Linked DNA regions of Homo sapiens: region 2 is linked to region 1. Evidence: promoter capture Hi-C in 16 types of primary human blood cells and fetal thymus (Javierre and others, 2016). All regions are on one chromosome and are shown on one strand. The core of a region is centred on a gene start or on the middle of the fragment in contact, and the rest is flanking DNA. Distances in the headings are between cores, read along the strand shown. Region 1 holds the start of DYRK2 (dual specificity tyrosine phosphorylation regulated kinase 2). Region 2 has its middle 72 kb from the start of LINC02420.

What was found. Contacts are between HindIII fragments. The CHiCAGO score rates a contact against its expected background, and 5 or more counts as called.
Region 2: a fragment that was not itself captured here is called in contact with the fragment with the promoter of DYRK2 in region 1 in 1 of 17 cell types (M2 macrophages); the score reaches 5.4 in M2 macrophages.

What each region holds. Positions count from the first base shown.
Region 1 is chr12:67,647,313-67,650,335 of GRCh38, forward strand. It overlaps DYRK2 (dual specificity tyrosine phosphorylation regulated kinase 2), which reads left to right and starts at 1,433. Exons shown (of 3, transcript NM_006482.3): 1 at 1,433-1,870; 2 at 2,485-2,633. The coding sequence starts at 1,822. RefSeq lists silencers at 1,096-1,205, 1,306-1,605, 1,616-2,275, 2,436-2,825. The HindIII fragment of the contact is 7,364 bases long and covers 1-3,023 here.
Region 2 is chr12:67,368,567-67,371,589 of GRCh38, forward strand. No RefSeq gene overlaps it. Among named protein-coding and RNA genes, the nearest start is that of LINC02420, 72 kb to the right of the region's middle. The HindIII fragment of the contact is 811 bases long and covers 1,083-1,893 here.

The DNA.
Region 1 (3,023 bases), core at 183-2,682:
CTTGGAGGCCTCTTTAGGAGTCCCAGAGACTCTGAGAGGGTCACACTGTACCTTGAAACAGTTTTTGGCGTTTGTATAAAGCTGCGGATGCGCTCTGTAGGAGGTTGCTATGACAATTTGCAAACAGTAGAGTGGATGAAACTCCGCAGGAGGTGGCTCCCTTCCGACTGGAGTCTGCACTAGTTCGGGCCTGCACAGTAGGTCCAGCCAGGAGCCAGAGATACTCGGGCGGGGCAGAGCATAATGGACCCCTGGCCCCAAGAGAACTTCAGAAACTAGGCACCTCTCGAGAAGGAAGTGCATGGCATAACTCTGCCCCGTCATCCGGGATTTGTCGGGCTTTCCCACCCCACCTCCTCTCACAGTTGAAGTGGCAAAACCTGTGACCTTTGAACAGAGGCGCACTGTGTGCCACGCACGACGAGGCGCGGATGTGAGACGGGAAAGCAATTTTTTTTTGGTCTTCAAGGAAAAGAGAGGTTGTATATGGCGAATAAAAAAGGCAGGGAAATTCTCCACGTGTCTTGGAAGGGAAGGGGGAAAGAGATGTGTCGGGTGGGGTGAGAGGAATTCGAGGTGTCGCTCCCTCACCGCAGAGCTGAAAGGAAGGTGTGTCTCTCCCAGTGGCCGCGCAGGGGAAAGGCTCGGAGTTGTAAGGAAATAGGAGATGTCTCTGATGTTTATTTTTGCCTAGCAACCCACAGCCAACTGCTTCCCCAGCTGCCGTCCACACGCGCCTCTCTGCCTCCCCTTGTCCTAGCGACTGGCGAGCGGTCACTTGGTGTCAGTAAACCGGGGAGGGTGTGTGGTGGAGGTGGGAGGGCAGCCCCCTCTTTCGCCCCTGCTCAGGGTCAACGAGCTCAGCGGCCGCCCCTCCCGGGACTTGCCTCTCCGAGGTGACCCTCGCACAACTAAGTTATCTACATGATGAATTGGGGAGAGGGGAGTGGCTAAGTCGCTGGGACCAAGAATGGGGGGACGGGGAAGCAGTACTGTCTGTGAGCAGCCATTCAGTTCGAAGAGCTGAAAATGCATTTATGTTTAGGGGTGCGCATGGCAGGGGAGGGGTCTCTGCGGCGCTTTCGGCCGGAGGGCAGCAGCGGTAGGTTGAGCTGTAGGGCAGAGAAGGGGCGCCGCGGGGCCGGGGAGGGGAAAAGGTCGCCGGAGTGGAGCCGAGGGAAGCAGTGCAGATGGCCGGAGGGGGCGGAGGAGGGCGAGCGGAGGCCGCCGAGTTTTCCGGGGAGCGGAGGGGCGGCTGCGCGCAAACCGGGGGACTGAGAGGAGCCGGGCGGGAGGTTGGGTGGGGGTGGGGTGTGCGTGGCCGCGGCCGGGGGAGCCGGGGGCGGGGCCTGCGGCGGCGGAGGAGGGCGGCGGAGGGCGGCGGGGGCGGGGCCGCGCGCCGGCGCCTGTGTGTGAGTGCGCGGGGGCGCGCGCGCGCGGGCCCGGGAGAGGCTCCCGAGCCAGGCGGTCTTCGGTCCTCGCAGCGCTTCCAGCTCCCCGCGCCCCTATGTGAGGGAGACGGGGAGGCCCGCGGCGCGCAGGGGAGGGCGAGGCATGTGCACGGGCCGGAGGGTGCTGCAGCCGCCCGAGGAAGAGGAGGACGGCGGCGAGGAGGAGAGCGGGGGGCTCGCGGCGGCGGGCCCCGGCCGAGGGGATGCAGTGGACTGTGTGTGTCTGGCTGTAGCAGACGCGAGGCGGCGACGAGGCGCCGGGGACCCGCGCGAGGGGCGGCCGGGAGGCGGCGGCGGCGGCCGCCAGAAGTAGCAGCAGGACCGGCGGCGGCGACGGCAGCCCTGAAATGCATTTTCCTCTCCAGCGGCCATGTTAACCAGGAAACCTTCGGCCGCCGCTCCCGCCGCCTACCCGACCGGTAAGGAGGCCGTGCCGCCGCGCCGCATCCCCGGACCCCCGCCGGCCCTGGGCAGCCCCTGTGGCGCGGGCGGCCGCTGCCTGCGGGACCTCGAACAAAGTCGGCGGCGCGGCGCGGGGGAGCCCCCGGGCGGACGACGCGCCCCGGGCTCCATGCAGGGTTGTGCGCGGCCCCGAAGGCCCCTCCGCGGGGAGCCCTCGGCCCGAAGAGGCTTCTGCCTGCCGGGGGCCCGGGCGGGGACCGTCCAGGCCTGCCGCCCCGCCCTGCGCTGCCCGGGGCTTGGCGTGGCCGTGGCTCCCTGCTCAGCTGTCCAAACCCACCTCCCGGCTGCTGGCCGTCTGCAACGTGGGCCGCCTAGCCCCGGCGCGGCCCGGCTCCCCCGCCGGGTCGCGAACTCGCGCGCCAGGGCCCCACTTAACTTTGCAGCTGCCCGCGCCCCGCCCGTGGGTGTGCGCTGGGGAGCCGTGACCCGAACGCCCGTTTTTACTGCCCCGGTCTCTTCCTCCGTCTTTCTTTGGAAGAGGGTTGTCGCTGCCCAGCGGGGTTGGAGGGGGGGTCTGGGTGACTTTCTCCCCCCTGACCCTCTTTTGTCTCCTCCCGCACGTGGCTTCCAGGCCGAGGTGGGGACAGCGCCGTTCGTCAGCTTCAGGCTTCCCCGGGGCTCGGTGCAGGGGCCACCCGGAGCGGAGTGGGGACTGGCCCGCCCTCCCCCATCGCCCTGCCGCCTCTCCGGGCCAGCAACGCTGCCGCCGCAGCCCACACGGTGAGACCCAGCCCGCGGGCGGCCCGGGCGGTGGGGGCGGGAGGGGCCCCAGGCCGAAGCACCCGGACTTGGAGGGGTCTGACGCCGGGAGAAGAGGGGTCGAGATACAAGCAGCCCCACGCCTCGGGCCGATGGTCTCTCGTCGACGCCGCCCTGGTTAAGTTGGGCGAGCCCAAAGCTGCAGCCACAAAGGAAGATTCGTGGCGTGGGCCCCTTACTTCCCCTCCAGAGCTCGCCCACCCATGACCTCCTCTTCCTAGGAACTTCCTCCTTGCTGCTTTCCTTCTTTCCTCATTTTTCGTCCTTGCATCCCAGAGTTCCCTTCCCTGACCCGGTAAACATCTCTGTCCTTCCCCCACCTCCCCGTGGGTAGTGGGTATTTATAGAAAC
Region 2 (3,023 bases), core at 238-2,737, 280 kb before region 1:
GTCTCCCTTTCTATTCTGCAGATACCATTTAGGCTCTGCCTCAATTATTACTGCAGAGACATAGTCCTTTAAAGATTTTATTCTTTATTAGAAGTCCAATGCACTATCCATTGTGCCACAGAGCCACTTTAAAGATTTTGTTCTAAATGCCCTTGTACACATTTTCTTATTTGAAAATTACAATAGCCTAGTCACTTAAAATATGTCAGAGATCATTTATCTCTACCGTGCCGATGAGGAAGCTGAGACTCTTATTGAGACTCATTTTTCTAAGGTGCTAGATCTTGATCTTGAACCGTGTTCTTGTGATTTTATGTTGTCCTTCCTACCCTTTGTTGGAATCTATTCATTGTAAAATGTGAAGGACTAATAGTATTTTTTAAAATTCTTTATTATTAACTGTGCATACATATGTGAAAATATAGAGAGTAGAATAATAAACTCATGTATCTATTATCCAGATTCAACAATTACTAGATTTGGCCAGGCACCTTGGCTTTTCATCTTACATATTTTAGTTTGTATGTTTTTAAAAAATAGACATATTTGCCTGGGCACTGTGGCTCGTGCCTGTAATCCCAACACTTTGGGAGGTCGAGGTGGGCAGATCACCTGAGGTCAGGAGTTCAAGACCAGCCCGGACAACATGGTGAAACCCTGTCTCTACTGAAAATACAAAATTAGCTGGGCATGGTGGCGCATACCTGTAATCCCAGCTACTAGGGGGGCTGAGGCAGGAGAATCGTCTGAACCCAGGAGGCAGAGGTTGCAGTGAGACGAGATCGCGCCATTGCACTCCAGCCTGAGTGACAGAGCGAGACTCCATCTCAAAAAAAAAAAAAGAAAAAGAAAATAGACATATTCTTGTGTAGCCACAATGACATTATCATACCTAACAGAATTAATAATTATTCCTTGGTATCATCTAATAGCCACTTCATATTCAAATTTCCTAATTTGTCTAAAAAAATTCTTTTATTGTGGCTGTGTTCAAGTCAGGGTTAAAAAAAAGTTTTCATTCTATTATCCCCTCTTTCTCCTTATTTTCAACTTCTTTACTTCTGTCTACTCTATTGTTTGAAAGCTTACTGACACATTCACCATCTTTAAACACACATACAATACACACACATGTGCATGCACATGCACACATAGACATATTTGCTGTTGGGGAATCAGGTGGCAGCTAGCATGGCCCTTGTGCTCCAAGAAGCTGATAAGAAACATCTACGAGAAACAGTAGTGAGATAGTGCTAAGGTAGAATTACAAGGTTAGGCAAGTCTTATTTATTCAGAAATATTCTTTTGAGAACCTGATATATACCAGATTCTGTACTATCTACTAGAGATAAAAGTGAGGATTAAGTTTAAAGTGGCAGGTTGGGAACACACATTAAATAAATAGCCATAAAGGGCATTATTGCATGTTGTCTTCTAATCGCTTCTACATGTCCCATCTTTCAGGGTTGACTTGCTTTGGGTAATATATCTCTGAAATGAAGAGCATCAGTTCTCATCGTATTCAATTCTCGTCATTTTCACATAAAGCTCTGTGTATTTTGGATAGTTCTAGCTTTGTTAAATGAACAACTGAGGTCTTCATTGCATGTAACTGTAACCCTTTGATTCCTTTCACTATTATTTACTTTCATCTTTCATTGTATTTGGTTTTTATTTCTTATGAAGGATAAAATTTGGATTTAGGCCTGTGATATTGAACAAGCTGGATGGCTGTTAGAGATAGAAAGCCAACTGCTTGCCTGAACAGTTTTACAATAGCACTGACAGAATATTAATTTTGGTTGCTGTATTAGATAATGCTTGCCATGTAGCAAACATGTCCCAAAATGTACAAGTTCTTTATTTAGAACTGCAGTTTTCTTATCACATATAAGCTTATGTATGATAATAAGAAGATGTTATGATATGTTTCTCCTAGGACTTCTGTAAAGAAATAATGCATATTGACATATTTTACAAACTAACGTGCCAAACAAGTGTTAGTATCAACAGCAGGCACAGGGATGGCAGCGGCATCAGCAGTGGTAGTAGTAGTTACCATGACTCTTGTCAAAATGTCAGTAAACCATCCCTCCGAATCTCTGAGCCTGGGATTGTTGTCAGAATGCAAAGTTGAGAAAGAAAATCTGGTGATCTCATTCCTGTTTTTGATACAGCAGTGGTTCACTTCCTACAGGAGTCTGTGATTTGTAAGAGTTAATAGTTTCATTCAGGGAAAGCCTGAGATAATGAGAAAACTCTTCTGTATTCATTGGCCTCTACTTTGTTTTATGATAGAAGGTGCCCTTGGGAACACTGCACTGATACTAAAAATTTATCTTCTTCCTCTCTATTCATTGCTAGATATTATTTATGCTTATGCTTGTTTATTTTTCTTTAGTGGCCTCTGAATAGATTTGTATTTTTATAATGTGTGGTACTTAATAATTACAGCTATGAGCAATTTGTAAAAAAATTTGCTGGATGTTCTTCTAAGTTCTACTGCAGTGGGCATGAAATGAGTGAGCACAGGAACCAACAGGGGGAATGTAATAAAATGTCATGTTCTAGGGCCAACTGTTATACATTGAATTGTAGATCTGAGAAAGGTTTAGTCATCAGGGATATTGGTTAAGTTTTTCTGCTCAGTTAACTTTTTAAGTATGCACTCTTGTGTTTATTTTTAGTGATTACCCTAGAAATTTTAAAATGCATTCCTGACTAACTATAAAACACCTTCCTTAAGCTTCACCCAAACAATGAAAAAGCTTATGATGGTTTAACTGTAGTTACTGCCTCTTACCCTTTGTGCTATTGTAGTCATATATTCATATATTTTAATTTTTACATATGTTTTAATGCCCACAAAACATATTATTACTGTATTTAAAGCAGTGAATATAACTTTTTTTTTTTTTTGAGACGGAGTCTCACTCTGTTGCCCAGGCTGGAGTGCAGTGGCACTATCTCGCTCACTGCAACCTCTGCCTCCCGGGTTCAAGTGATTCTCATGCCTTAGCCTT